5 separate regions of the Homo sapiens genome follow, and all the other regions are linked to region 3. The links are contacts of gene promoters, found by promoter capture Hi-C in blood cells and fetal thymus (Javierre and others, 2016). All regions are on one chromosome and are shown on one strand. Each heading gives the region's core, a stretch centred on a gene start or on the middle of the fragment in contact. The rest is flanking DNA. Distances are from core to core; before and after follow the strand shown.

The links. Contacts are between HindIII fragments. The CHiCAGO score rates a contact against its expected background, and 5 or more counts as called.
Region 1: a contact is called between a fragment that was not itself captured here and the fragment with the promoter of TFAP2B in region 3, in 2 of 17 cell types (M0 macrophages and monocytes). The highest score is 5.7, in M0 macrophages.
Region 2: a fragment that was not itself captured here is called in contact with the fragment with the promoter of TFAP2B in region 3 in 3 of 17 cell types (neutrophils, endothelial precursors and M0 macrophages); the score reaches 6.0 in neutrophils.
Region 4: a fragment that was not itself captured here is called in contact with the fragment with the promoter of TFAP2B in region 3 in 7 of 17 cell types (monocytes, endothelial precursors, M2 macrophages and 4 more); the score reaches 10.0 in monocytes.
Region 5: a fragment that was not itself captured here is called in contact with the fragment with the promoter of TFAP2B in region 3 in 5 of 17 cell types (M2 macrophages, monocytes, M0 macrophages and 2 more); the score reaches 8.2 in M2 macrophages.

Annotation. Positions count from the first base shown.
Region 1 is chr6:51,927,587-51,930,286 of GRCh38, forward strand. All of the region lies in intron 37 of PKHD1 (PKHD1 ciliary IPT domain containing fibrocystin/polyductin), which reads right to left. Among named protein-coding and RNA genes, the nearest start is that of PKHD1, 160 kb to the right of the region's middle. The HindIII fragment of the contact is 1,539 bases long and covers 594-2,132 here.
Region 2 is chr6:51,840,438-51,843,137 of GRCh38, forward strand. All of the region lies in intron 50 of PKHD1 (PKHD1 ciliary IPT domain containing fibrocystin/polyductin), which reads right to left. Among named protein-coding and RNA genes, the nearest start is that of PKHD1, 250 kb to the right of the region's middle. The HindIII fragment of the contact is 3,172 bases long and covers 1-2,700 here.
Region 3 is chr6:50,817,486-50,820,185 of GRCh38, forward strand. It overlaps TFAP2B (transcription factor AP-2 beta), which reads left to right and starts at 1,386. Exons shown (of 7, transcript NM_003221.4): 1 at 1,386-1,487. The coding sequence starts at 1,407. It overlaps LOC124901490 (a long non-coding RNA gene), which reads right to left and starts at 1,541. Exons shown (of 2, transcript XR_007059923.1): 1 at 1,417-1,541; 2 at 1-159. The HindIII fragment of the contact is 1,562 bases long and covers 1-1,449 here.
Region 4 is chr6:51,947,021-51,949,720 of GRCh38, forward strand. The region is part of intron 36 of PKHD1 (PKHD1 ciliary IPT domain containing fibrocystin/polyductin); the gene reads right to left. Among named protein-coding and RNA genes, the nearest start is that of PKHD1, 140 kb to the right of the region's middle. The HindIII fragment of the contact is 1,340 bases long and covers 781-2,120 here.
Region 5 is chr6:51,858,878-51,861,577 of GRCh38, forward strand. The region is part of intron 48 of PKHD1 (PKHD1 ciliary IPT domain containing fibrocystin/polyductin); the gene reads right to left. Among named protein-coding and RNA genes, the nearest start is that of PKHD1, 230 kb to the right of the region's middle. The HindIII fragment of the contact is 3,672 bases long and covers 1-2,700 here.

The sequences.
Region 1 (2,700 bases), core at 113-2,612, 1.1 Mb after region 3:
TAAGCAAAGAAAGAGGGCTGCATAAGTATCAATCACAGAGTGACCTGTAAGAAGGGGAGACTGGCTTCTTTTCCCAGGTGGAATGTCTGCATATGCAGCCTATTTGCTCAGCTGCTCATGCTTATCTAAGCAGGGGAAACAATTAGAGAAAGAGCAGAGCAGAGAAAGGGGTGATAAGTGAAACATCTTTCATGTGGATTTGTAAGTTTCCTCTGGATAGCTGAATTGTAGGGAAGATAGCTTGGCTTGAACCAACTTTCTAGTACTCCACCAAGACCAACCCCCAAGGTGGATGCTAACGGATTGAAAACCCAAGTGGGGCTTCCACATTGAGAAACTGTGCAGTGGAAAAGCCTCCTACAAGACTCCAGTGATTTCATGCAGGCATCTTAGGAGGGAGACTCAATAGTCAGCAATTATTATTCAGAGAGAGAGCAACACCCAACAGAGGATATAGGTGCACCGTTAAGTATTAAGCTTGTTAAACCTCTCACCTTACCTCTTCCACCTGCCCCATACTGACAATATGAAATAAGAAGGATTAGAGGAAGAGTGAGGGAGCAGACCCTACCATCCCAAGTGCCTCAAGTTGAAGCTTTGTGGGTGAGGAAGGTAACATTAAATGAATAGGAGACTGAGTTTTTAAACTAGATTAATCAGGACTGGCATTTTCAATATCTGAAATCAACTGGAAAGCTATTGGTAACCAAGGTGTTTTTAAAGGACAAGAAAAAGGATCCATCAGAATACAGACGAAGGTAGTGACTAAAGAAAAATAAAATCTATTCTGAGTCAGACTTCTGTCTGAAAGGTTTGCATCTACCAAACATCCCTAAAATTGTGTCGGTTGCATTTGCTCAGGCCTGTGGCAAATTTACACACCACATCAGCTCAAGTTTCCCATGAAATCACAGGTAATATTTTGTGGTGATAAATGCAAGGGGAAAGCAGAAGTGAAAATGTGGCTTGAGCTTGGACAGTCAGAGTGCACTTTCCCCCTGGGCACCATGTATAGTCCTTAGTCTGCTAAGTAACTCTAGCGGACTTTGGGAGGCCTCCCCTGGTTATTTTTTGAAAAGAATACAGTGTTCCTTTCTTTGGTAGTAGAAAATCAAAGTCCACATGAAATCAGGAAGTCCCAATAACCATAGAGAAGGCAGCAATAAGGAGTAGGAGAGAGTGAAGTCAATACATGCAGAGACAGCCAGGGTAAGGGACTGAGGGGTGAGTCCTGTGGACATTCGGACCCTTGAAGACAGTCACGTCTAAGGCCATTGTCTTTCTCTCCATCCTGCGTTTTGATTACAAGAATTCATAAATCCTTGGTTCTAAGTTTGTTTCCAGTGGGCTTCTGTCCCCTAAAACCAAACAATTTCAGAGTAATAAAGCTACATATAAAAATGCCATGTCATAGCTCTGGTTTGTATCTAGCTCAAGGGAACGAGAGACAGAAGAAAAGGGAGGAGTCTTGGTCTAGAAGAAATAGGTAAGGAAAGGGGCAAGAGGAGACAGCATTGGAGACTATTAATCAGGTGACGAGAGAGTGGAGATTTAAAAATATATTGTTGGATAAGAGGAACTGTTATGACATGAAAATGGGCTCTAGAAAGTTTCACCCTACATCAAAGAACAGACTTTATAGAAAATGTCCCAGAGCTAAATCAGTCTTGGGGAAACAGGAATCATGCAGAGAGGCCCTGGACACCTCAAAAGGATCCATACACCACAGCTAAAAGAATGACCTAGTAGAGTTTTTTAATCACAGTTTTAACAGTGGAACTCTTTCTTCTAACAAACTGTTACTTTGAACACAAATATATAACAGATAAAAGCAATAAATCAATTACTTGAGCAATTTAAACCTTTATTACTTGACCTCCAATATTCATTGTTTAGGGAACCCCTAAATCCCCTCCAGGAAACATTTGGATTTTGTGGAGCACAATGTGAAAACCACTGACCGGAAACACACTCCCACACATGTGCCTGTTCCACACACTTTATACCATGCTTAAAGACAGCCTGATACTCTAGCAACTATGAAAATAGTGCATATTACACAGTACTCATAGCAACCATGGAATTTACATGCAGACACTTGGCATTTTCAGAAGGAAAACAAACCATATCTAAGCTTGCTTATTTAGACCACTGCTTTTATTTATTCCTACCAAATTCTTATGTTCCTTGCAATTGCACTCGTGCTTTCTTCAATCATGCCCCACATACTGCTTTTTCTCAGGAATTTCCATGTATATTTAATGCCTATATCTTGTAATTTCTTGAAAAGGACAAAGACAGAAGTCCAGCCAAGGCCATGAGACTGTTTTTCTCCTAAGAAACTGTCAGCCAAATTTCTCAGGGAGAAACTGGAAATGAAGTGAGAGACATTGATAAATTTCCCTGCTGAACAATCAATAAAAGCTCCACCATCCTGCTCAGATTCCCACTGTGGAAGCAAGAGCCGTAATTACGTTGTCAAAAATTTAAGTTGCCCAGGCTGACAGCAACCCACTTGAAAAGTGACAAGTGATTGGCACTCAGTTTGGAGTGGTGAACCTGGATTGGCAGACAGAGTGATGAAAGCAAAAGGCAAGAGTGAAATTTCCTTATTGACTACAGCTACCCAAACCCCAGACTGCCACTCAGGAGGAATCCTGAGACCCTTTAGTCATATTAACGCATCAAAGTGAGCAGCTG
Region 2 (2,700 bases), core at 118-2,617, 1.0 Mb after region 3:
CCAACACATATATCTGCATTAGCCACAATCCTGAAAGTTAGCTCAATTAAACCTTCTTAATTAACTCAGAGAAGAATAACAATTGTTATTCTGACTCAGAGCAATGTTTTTCATACTTCTGTGGAGGTATTTGTGATTTCCCAGACCCTGCCACAGACCTACACAGCCTGAATCTCTCAGGAGGGTCCTGGGAATAAGCATTTCAGCTGTTTACACAGGAGGCAAAAAAACACAAATGTAAGGAACTAAACAAATTTTCTCATACTACACTCTTAAAATATTGTTTGTTCTCAGGAGCAGGTGTTCTTACCAAGTAAAGAGCGAGACCCAGATGGAAAAGATCCTTACTTCACAATTCGTACTTTTTATCAATTATACCAAACCCTTACAGACCAAATCATATTCCCAAGATGTTAAATGCACAATGGTTACTTTAGAGGCATAAAAAGTTTCATTTTAGTATCTATACATTGTAAAGTATTTTAGAAAAAAACAACTAACCCATTAAACCCATGATTTCATGGATATTATTAAGAAAAGTTAGGTTTTAAAAATAAGACAGTGTAGAAATTGATTTAAGAAAAATATTAAGTAAATAATCAGACAAGAGGTATAAGGATATGACACAATTATGAAAATGGTACTAAAATATCTAAAGTTCAGGAAGCACAGTGTTAACTAAGTATTGTTTTTTCTTATAAATTGAAAGAAGAAGAGTTGGTTTAAAAGGTTAGGTATATAAGCTCAGATTTAAAAAAAGAAAAGATGGTATACTAGAAAAAGCACTGAACCTAGAGTCAGAAAAGCTATTTGAATACTGGTTGCACCACCTATGACCTGTGTGAATTAAGGCTAGCAACTCAGCATTGCGGAGCATTAACTCCTTAACCTGAGTGATTCCTAAAAGATGTATTTGATTCTAAGTTTCCTTCCCTTTCCTTTCTCCTCCTCTCCTCTTCTCTCCTCTCCTCTCCTTTCCTTCCTTTTCTCCTTCTCTTCCTGCCTTTTCCTTTTGGAGTTGTTTCCAACCAAGAGGCAAAATCCCTTTTCACATCCCCAGCCTCTGTTCTGTTATCTATATTTTTGCCATAAAGGTTAGTGCAGTTCCCTGAAGTCAATTCTCTACATACTGGTAAAAATCCTTGGGGATCTTTGGGAATGAGTTTTTCATAAGAATGTAAATTAATTTATTAACTAGAATGCTGTGGATTGCCTTAGAGGGGCTCAGCATGGGAATGGCTGCAGAGTTGCAAAAAGATTCTGATTCCGCTCTGCCTACAAAATCTTCCCCAAGAGGTCACAGGAGCCAGCTGACGCCACTCTCCTCCTTAGATCCTAAAGGAATTATTTTCCAGGATTTGCAGGCAGTCTTCTAGGCCAGCTGAAGAAGAGAAGATTTATGCAAGCAGCCTGCTTGGCTCCAGGGCCCTTGTTGCATTGAGGAAAGGAAACCTGGGCAGTGGTAGACAGGATCAGGAGCCTAGGCTCCAACCCAGGAAAGCACTCCTGATTTTTTAGGCTCTCCCAAATTAACAGCATCTTTTCTGACCCATCTTTGTGATGAGACAGACCTGAGTTCTTCTAGGCAACTTGGCACACACAATAAAGTCCATCTGCCTTTCCATGCACAGCCCTCTTGCCCTTTATTCGTGGTGAGGCGGACATTTGGACACAAGTGTTGGCCAGCCTGGCTAGACATGTCCTTTTTTTCTCAGTCAGATCAGAAGGTGGTGGTGCAGCAGGAGCCTCAGCCTTACAGGCAGACCTTCTCAGCTGCCGCCTCACACAATGTCCCAGCTCGGCTGCATCTCTGCTCCATGAGTGGGGGCTGTGTGAACTCGGGAGGGCAACTGTGAATGGCACAGCATCTGATATGAATTTATCACCGGCTGCTGGTCGGGAGGGGGATCAAGCTAGGGGAAGGGGCTGTGTTTAATGCACCCTGCCACAACCCAACAGTTTGCCCTAAAGAGCCTTTTACCAATATAAAAGGACAGGGTCAAAAGTAAGTTGACCCCTGACAGAATGTACAATTATTAGAAGAAGGCTGTGTGCGAGCAGCTGCTGGAACCCCACTGACTCTGCATCGGGCTTCCAAGAGTCAGATTATGAATAATCAACTCAAGATTGTTTTCTCCACCCTTCTCAACCTCCCCCCGCCTCCCTCCAATCTTCTCCTCCTGTTTTGGGCAAGTCCTATTCTATTTCTACAGGAAGAAGCATAGCCCTCCCTAGCAGCTGCAATAATTGTGTTCCTATTGTGATGAAGACCTCCTCCTGGCCACCCCCCTACAAGTGGCCATTGTGAGTGGAAAGTCAGTGATTATACGCTCCCTCTGATGCTTTGGGGGACCCAGCTGCCTAAGTGCTGACACAGGAGTGTGCAGAAGGCCAGGGAGGGGGCTGGTGGAGGTGGAGGCAAGAGGTGGGGGAAACCCACGTCTGTGAGACTGGACTCTGACATACCAGACCTTTTGCATAAGTCAAGCCAAGAACAAATGAGGCATTATCAGGCCCCAGTGTTGAGAGGTCTCATCTCCCTTTGAAGTGGAGCTGAGCGTGGGGCCAAGCAGCTTTTCCTCCTTTGGACCAAGCAAACATCCTTCTTTTGATATGCTACATGCTCATTATCTCTGCCCCATTTAATGATTTTTGATTGAAGGGTGGCGGCTGGGATGCCGAGAGGATCGTTAGAGAGGC
Region 3 (2,700 bases), core at 136-2,635:
AAGACAATCACCCTTTGCAGATTCACTCTCACCAGGCTTAATAACTTCCACCCCAAATTGCCCCATCCCTCCTCGGTCCCTCCTGGCATTTCTTTTCTGTCCCAGGCGCAGAGATCCTCTTCTGGGCGTCTGTTCCGGCTATGAGAAGCTCTCCGCACCCTGAAAGGGAGTAGAAAAACAGAGGGGATGGGAAAGGGGGAACAGGGGAACAGATGAGTATTCATTTCATGATAAAATTCAGAATCCCTGCGCCTTAAATGGTGCCCATTTTCTAAGTCTGGTTAATATTGTTCTTGTTGCTGATGATGTTTTCCTTTTTAAAAACTATATGAATCATCTTATTAAGAAAAATTATACAAAAAAAAGAAGAAACTCCACATGCACTAAAATATTTTTCACTATCTCTTTGAAGACATTCTGCTTAAACCTTTTCAAAGATTCGGGTGGCCCTTTCTTGACTCTCCATGATTAAAACCACTTACAAGTCATACACAACAGATGCAAATATAAAATGTCCTTGGCCTCTGCAAAAAAGGCTCAAAATTAACCTTGTCTGAACGTGTGCGTACGTTGCTTCCAACATCTGAAAAAAACTTGATAAAATGGAGACTCCAGCCAAGAGGAATGGTGCATGGAATCCGTTGAAAATGCATACAAACAACACCTAAAATAACAAGCAGCACAAACTGAGGTGTATTTAAGTTTCCAAAGGTTTTAGGTAAAATGACCAGAAAATATTAGAAATGGTCATCAACGGTGGCTAGCTTTTTTGTTCTATGGTGACAGAGATAAAGTTAAAAAAAAAAAAGTTGTGTAGCCATCAACACAGAGATAGTCCTTAAAATCCCCCATATCCAGCCTTTCAAAATACTCTCTTCCGGAACATACATGAATAGGAGGGAGCTTTTGTGTTTAAAAATCTTGGTAAGTGTCCCCCTTTAAAATCTACATAGAAAATAGGGGACTGATGGCCCCTGGTTTCTCATTATGAATTGCAAAGACTTCAGTTAGTGGCTACAATGATGTGTCATTTTCGATATAGAAGTTATAAAATGTATATATTATATTAATCACCCTGAACAACTCTTTGTTAAATGCACATTTGGAGTCTGCAGACTGTGTGACCCAGAGGTGCTTATATAACTATATGTGGGTGTCTGGGTGTAAATACGGGTTTATGATTTTTATAGTATATATGTCTGTGGGTTGCATCTAACTCCTGTGTGTGCAATAATGTTTTTTCTCTTTGCTGAGGCTTACTTGTCCAGCCTATTGTTTGAGACAACAGATATAAGTTGCGATGGGAGAGGAGCGTCGGATTTGGTGTGTATCCCCCATTTCCAATTATAGATGGATCATTACAGACAGCGGAGTCCTGAGAAGCCAGACATCTGCTCCTCACATGAATGCACTCACCTCCTAGAGACCAGGCTGCCATCATGCTCTGGAAGCTTGTGGAGAATGTCAAGTACGAAGATATCTATGAGGTGAGTCGACACCCCCAGATGCACCTTAGAGCTTTGCAGATAGAGAATTTGAGCTTCTTGATACCCCAAATGATATATATTTTTAAGCTATTTACTCGTAGATTTCCGGTCGGTTTTCTCAGCTTTTTTTAACTTTTAGAAAAGCTGGCTAGGGAAGACTTCGCTGCTCTGAAAAGGGACTTTAAGGCTGAAATCTGACAACTTTAATTTAGGAATGTTTTTATTTATTTTATTTTTCTTTCCCTTTTCCTCGCCTCCCCCCACCCCACCCCACCCTTTTAAGCTCTGATGGGGAATGTGGTGCTACTGAATGTGGGCACGCTCTCAGAGAAAATCGAGATTCTGATAAAGTCAGGGGCTTTTCTCGTTTTAAGTGTGGAAGAGAATTGGGTTTTCAAGCCTCATTTGTAACAGACTCGGGCTTTTAATTTTTATTTTCAATAAAATTTCTGAAATTGATAACAAATGGTTCCAAGTAGAGGACAGAGAATTAGCGGGAAAGAAGTAGATGGCTGGAGATATGGATGGATAGAGCAAAATAGAAGTCGTAGCAGTTTATTAGTTTCTGTTTTCTTGTGTTTTGCTTCCTTGAGGGTCACTGCGTCCGAACAGAAATCGCAGCCGCCTCCTGTGTGGGCATCTTTCACGGAAATTTCTGCCCACGTTCAATGCGTACGGGTCTCTAGCACTGAGGCTAGCTCAACTCTTCGGGGCAGGAGAAGTTGCGCCCAGCCAGGAGGACGCCAGCCGCCTCCGGGGCCCGGACCGCGCTCGCCAAAGCCCTTTTCCGGCTCGGGCGAGGGCTGACGCGGCCAGACGGCTCCGCTACTCGCGGGCGAGGCGGACTAGGCGGACGAGGCGGCCGAGGCGGGCGAGGTGGGAGAGGCGGGCGAGGTGGGAGAGGCGGCCGAGGCGGGCGAGGCGCGGGGCGCGCGGCGGGCCAGGCTGGGGACCGGGAAGCCCGCGGAGCCTCGCTTTTAAGCGGAATGGTCTGGGACAGCCCCAGGTGGTTGCCAGGGGAAGGGAGGAAGGGAAGGTTCTGCTGAGACGTCGAGGTTGGAAATAAAAACTTCGGAAAGGCGAAGCGGATTTAGAAAAGGAGGGAAGTCGAGGCGGGCGAAGCGGGCCATGGAGATTGCTAAGAGGAAAAGTTGGAGAGAAAAGGAAGGAAGAGAAGCAGACTCCCGGGTGGCGGGCGCGGGCCGCTAGGTCA
Region 4 (2,700 bases), core at 201-2,700, 1.1 Mb after region 3:
GTCTTCAAAAGAGTGGCTATACCTACTATCTTCAACTCTTTTTCATGACTGTCTTTTGAACCCTCCCTGGTCAGGCCTTTACCTGATGAACCTGCAAAACTGCTCCTCTCAAGGCCACAGATGGCAACCACATTGGTGAATCTCAGGCTCAATGCTCAGTCCTCACCCTTCCCGAGTGACCAGCAGCATTTGACAACTTGGTCACTTCTTTCCTAAAACTCCCTCTCCTCACTTGCCCAGCCTCTTTGTTTTTCTTTCTTTCATTTTCTCATCTCTATTTAAAAAATCCAATGTTTCTATACTTCTATCAAATTTTCATCATGTGCTATATTCTATACATTGTATTGAATCGCTAAAGAAAACCTCATAAAATGCAAAAGTGCTAGTAACTCATAAAAGAACAGAAGAATAAACTCTTCTATTTAGAACCTTTGTCTTTCCTTCACCTGGTATCTAATTTCATGTCTTCATTTTTAGCAAATACTAAGAAAGCTCCCTATTGACTCAATGACAGTGAGCACATGGGACTTTTCTAATTAAGTAGGTTGGGTACAAACCCAGCTGGTTTTCCTCTTACTTCTTAGGCATCCTCTTCTCAGCCTCTTCTGCCTGATTCCTCCTGATCATCCCAACCACTGACACTTGGTGGGTCCCAAGCCTCAGCCCTCTAAACACGTTTCTTATCAGTCTCTGTAGACCATGCCAGTTGTCCCATCTTGTCTTAAGGTTTTAAACACCATCGCACGCTAATTGTCAATGACTCTCAAATTTATATCTCCAAGCTTGTGCCCTCAGCTCAAGATTCACATACCCAACTGCCTACTCAACATCTCTACTTGGATGTCTCATAGTTTCTTAACTATGAGTATCCATGAACTCCTTTCCTTGTCTTGCCCCACAGATCTTCCCTCAGTCCTTCCCATTCCATGAATGGTAACTTCATCCTTGCAATTGCTAAGTCTGAAAATCACAGAGTTAACTTTCACTGTCTCTCACTCCATAATCAATACTTCAGGAAATTGTATGCATTCCACCTTCAAAACGTCCCCTATAACCCAACCACTTACCACCTCCACATCTACTTCTGGGGTCCAAGTCACTCTCATCTCACCCATGGATTATTGTAACAGCATCTTAACTTAGCTCCCTGTTTCTGCCCTTATCCTCTACCTCAGGGTTAATTCTCAAAACAACACTCAGTGTTGTCATTCCTTCTTTTCATGTGAACCATATCGTGTTACCTCTCTGCCAAAATTCTTCAATGGCTCCCATCATATTTAGAGTCAAAGCCTATCAAACCTTACAGCGTTGGTTCTCTCTGGCCCCATCTGCCTCTGCTCTCCCCCTTGTTCCAATACTCCTTTTTGCTCCCTTGCCTCACAACATTTGCTATCGCTGTGTGCCAATATCCCCAACTACCACCTCCAATGTGTATTCCCTATTCACCTCTCCTGCTGCATTTTTCTCCATGGTACTAAGCAAATTTAACAAAAACTATAATTTTCTTATTTTGTTTATTGACTGTTTTCCTTCTAGAAGTAAACACCATGAGAGCAAGATTTTGGCCTGTTTTGTTCACAGCCATAGTCCCTGTGCCTGGAACATGGGGAACGTGTTAAGTGATCACTCAATACTTGTTGAATAACGAGGAGTTGAAATTATCAAAGTAAATGAGGTCTCCCAGGGAGGACATGTAGAGTAAGAACAGAAGAAAGGTAAGGTGGGTAAAGGTAGGGAAACAACTGTCAACCATCAACATTTAAAGGCTAGAATAAGAAACAAGATTCTTGAGAGCAGATCAAAGAATTAGGTGAGTTAGAAGGATCATAAGGTTGTAGACATAGGCTCAACGAAGAGCCTTAAGAACTGTTAAAGAGGTAGATGAGTGTGTCAAACCCTTAATGCCATTTTTAGGAAGATCAAGAGAGAAAAGGTGCACAGCCAGCATGTACAGAGTTAGGATGTGAATGTCAGGTGATAAAATAAACCCAGGGAGAGTGATTCTATTTTTAAACAGAGGAAAAATGAGAGGTAAATGGAGGCAAGACCAGGGAGGGATCTGAGAACCCCAATTCATTAGATTAATCTGTATCACCAAGCTAGATAATTCATTTACTCAAAGCTTGAACTATCTAAATTTTTAGATGTAAACTAATTTACTTGCCTACATTGATTAACCCCCAATTCACCATTTTTTCTTAAAAAATTTAGCAGCCTATATATTCTTACCTTTCAATTATTAAATAGTCAAATGGATAGTCGAGGAAGCCTGTGGAATTCCCTTTCCCTGGAGAAAAGGAATCATCCATTCAAGATGGACAAATCCTGCTCTGCCTGGGTAAGGAGAGCTGGCTGAGTGATCTGGGCAGAGTTGGAGTATATCCCTGTACCTTACTGCACTGTGCTGCTCTGGGAGCAGGAGCCAGGAGAAGGTGAGGAAGAGGAGGAAAGAGGAGCATTTAGAGAAGGCACCCACAGCCCAAAGAAACCTGCATTGTGACACGGATGGACACAGCTTCCTTTGTTGGCAAGATCCGGATTAGACTTGTGCCTGATCCACTGGAGCAGAGCCTGGGAAGCCTTCGAGGTGGGCTTGTCCCCAGCCAGAGAGGCGGAAAATCAATTTGGCTGGCAAACGAGAGCCCCCAAGAGCTTAGTCCACGCTCCATAATCCTATCCACTAGCAGCTCAGGAAATAGA
Region 5 (2,700 bases), core at 111-2,610, 1.0 Mb after region 3:
TTTTCAAAAGAAATCAGCAGTTGGGTGATCCTAAGTTATTAGAGCTTGATACAATCAACCCCATATCAGTAGGATATTTGCCAAGAGGACAAACATAGTCAGTGGTCAGAAAACCTCTCCTAGGCACACACAAGCAATGTGCACTAATAATGGTCTCTGGTCTAGGAAAATGCTATGATTTCCTTGAAAACTCATATTTCTGCAATCCTAGTCAAGTGCTGTCAATTAAACCACTTTTTAAAAATAGTTTTAACTACAAACCAAAAGAAGATCTCTGTTCAAAAGCATCCATCTGTTCACATTTAATTCCTCCTGCCTCACCTATCTTCTCATGCATACCACGTTGATCATTAAAAAAAATTACCTCGGCCGGGAGCGGTGGCTTATGCCTGTAATCCCAGCACTTTGGGACGCCGAGGCGGGTGGATCATGAGATCAGGAGATCGAGACCATCCTGGCTAACACGGTGAAACCCCGTCTGTACTAAAAATACAAAAAATTAGCTGGGCGTGGCAGCATGCGCCTGTAGTCCCAGCTACTCGGGAGGCTGAGGCAGGAGAATGGCGTGAACCTGGGAGGCAGAGCCTGTAGTGAGCAGAAATCGCGCCACTGCACTCCAGCCTGGGCAACAGAGCGAGATTCCGTCCCAAAAAAAAAAAAAAAAAATTACCTCAATATGTGATAGTATAATCAATTGGGTAGATATTTCCAGAAATATTTTTTAATTCCAGCAATGTGGTCCCAAGAATTCCCCTGGTCACCTTAACTGGACTTAATTGCTCGTCAAATTTCAATTAACACCACATTTACAGACCAATTTTTAGGATGTTATTTCCCCTGACTCAGTTTCTGTAGATTACAATTTCAATTATTGAAGGAAGCATTTTTCAGATAATCTCCCCAGTTTCTGAAGGCCCATACAAATGTGGTCCCTCTTCAAATAGTGTCAAACTGCTAAATGCTAGCAATAATTTGGTTCTATTTGTCTTTGGAAACATTGCACCTTCCTTTTGAGGTTCTTCTCCTTCTAGTCAGAATCCAATAATCTGATGCAAACTCCTTGGCCAACCAGAGACATACCATAGCACACTGTGATCCTAAATTACTTTCTTATTTCTCCTTCATGCACTGCTCATTCTCTCAGAGCCTTGAGTCTATCAAGCTCCCCTCACCCATCTCAACCAAGGTTTATTAGGGATGCAATTTCATAGGCACTCATGTGCAGCACCAGCTTTCTGTAGTGCAATACAGGTAGAGAAGGAGGTTATCATATATACTACACTTTTATCACAGCTGATAGGAGAGAGGGTCATATGGTAAGCATTCAGATATGCTTTCCACTCTGAAAAGCAACTCAAAAAGCAAAAGACCCATCTCCCATCAGGCAAGATGGCTTGTACTGACCATCACCAGGGGCCAAAAATTCAGTCAGGTCATCTCCTGTCCTCCTAGGCCAAATGCCAGAATTGACCATGGAGGGGTCTTCTGAAAAGCACCAAAAGAACATCAAGAGTCCAAAAAACACCATGAAGAGAACTTACCAACAATAATTACTACAATTTTCACTTGCCCTAAATAGCCACCAATTTCCCCATGCCCTAAATAGCCACCAATCTCCCACTCTTTACTGTTAATGAAGCAAAGGAGCACAAAAGTATTTCTAATTTGGAGGAGCCAAGGGAGTCTGCATGGGCCATTAGCAGTAGAGAGCTTCATTACTAGGGGAAGAAGTCTCTCCCTGAACTTCTCATGGCTTTATGTGCAAGAAATCAGGAGGCAACCAGTCCATTTTAAATGTTAACCCTTACCTCTGCATCAGCAACAGCTCCTCCTGTCTATGATCAAAAAGACAAAAGGGCTATAAGCCTTACATGTTGTTTTTCTTTTCTGTGGGCTGTCTTAATGTTTGTTCTTTTTTATTTTATTTTTTATTTTATTATTATTATTATTTGAGATGGAGTTTCACTCTTGTTGCCCAGGCTGGAGCACAGTGGCATGATCTCGGCTCACTGCAACCTCTGCCTCTCAGGTTCAAGCAATTCTCCTGCCTCAGACTCCTGAGTAGCTGGGATTACAGGCACCCACCACCACACCCAGCTAATTTTTTATATTTTTAGTACAGATGGGGTTTCACCATGTTGGCCAGGCTGGTCTCGAACTCCTGACCTCAGGTGATCCACCCGCCTCAGCCTCCCAAAGTGCTGAGATTACAGGCGTGAGCCACCATGCCTGGCCCAAACCTGTTTTTAATTCAGGGAAATGTTCCATTAGAAATATAACACTATCACTTGGTAAAACTTCCTGGTCAAAGTACCAATTTACCATACTAGTTACTTAAAGAGTTATGTAACTTAGTGCCCATGTACTGTAAAGAACTGTTGAATCCCACAAAGGATTTGTTAGGCAATCAATAATACCAATGAGAGCAGATATTAACTCCCTGGTTTTTGTTTACCATTAGCTTACTTTTCCTGAGGGTCCATATCTGTGTATTAAAGACAAGCATTGCACAGAGCTCTAAATGCTCTTGATTTGGAACAGTTGTGAAATAAATCCTCTGTAATTATCCATCTCCTAAGCCAGACACACCACAATACCTAACCTCAAATTGTGTTGCAAACATCTTCTGAGTATTTGTGCTTGTTGATGTCACTCTCATCTTTTACTGCACAAAGGGGAAGAAAAATCAAAACTGTGGGC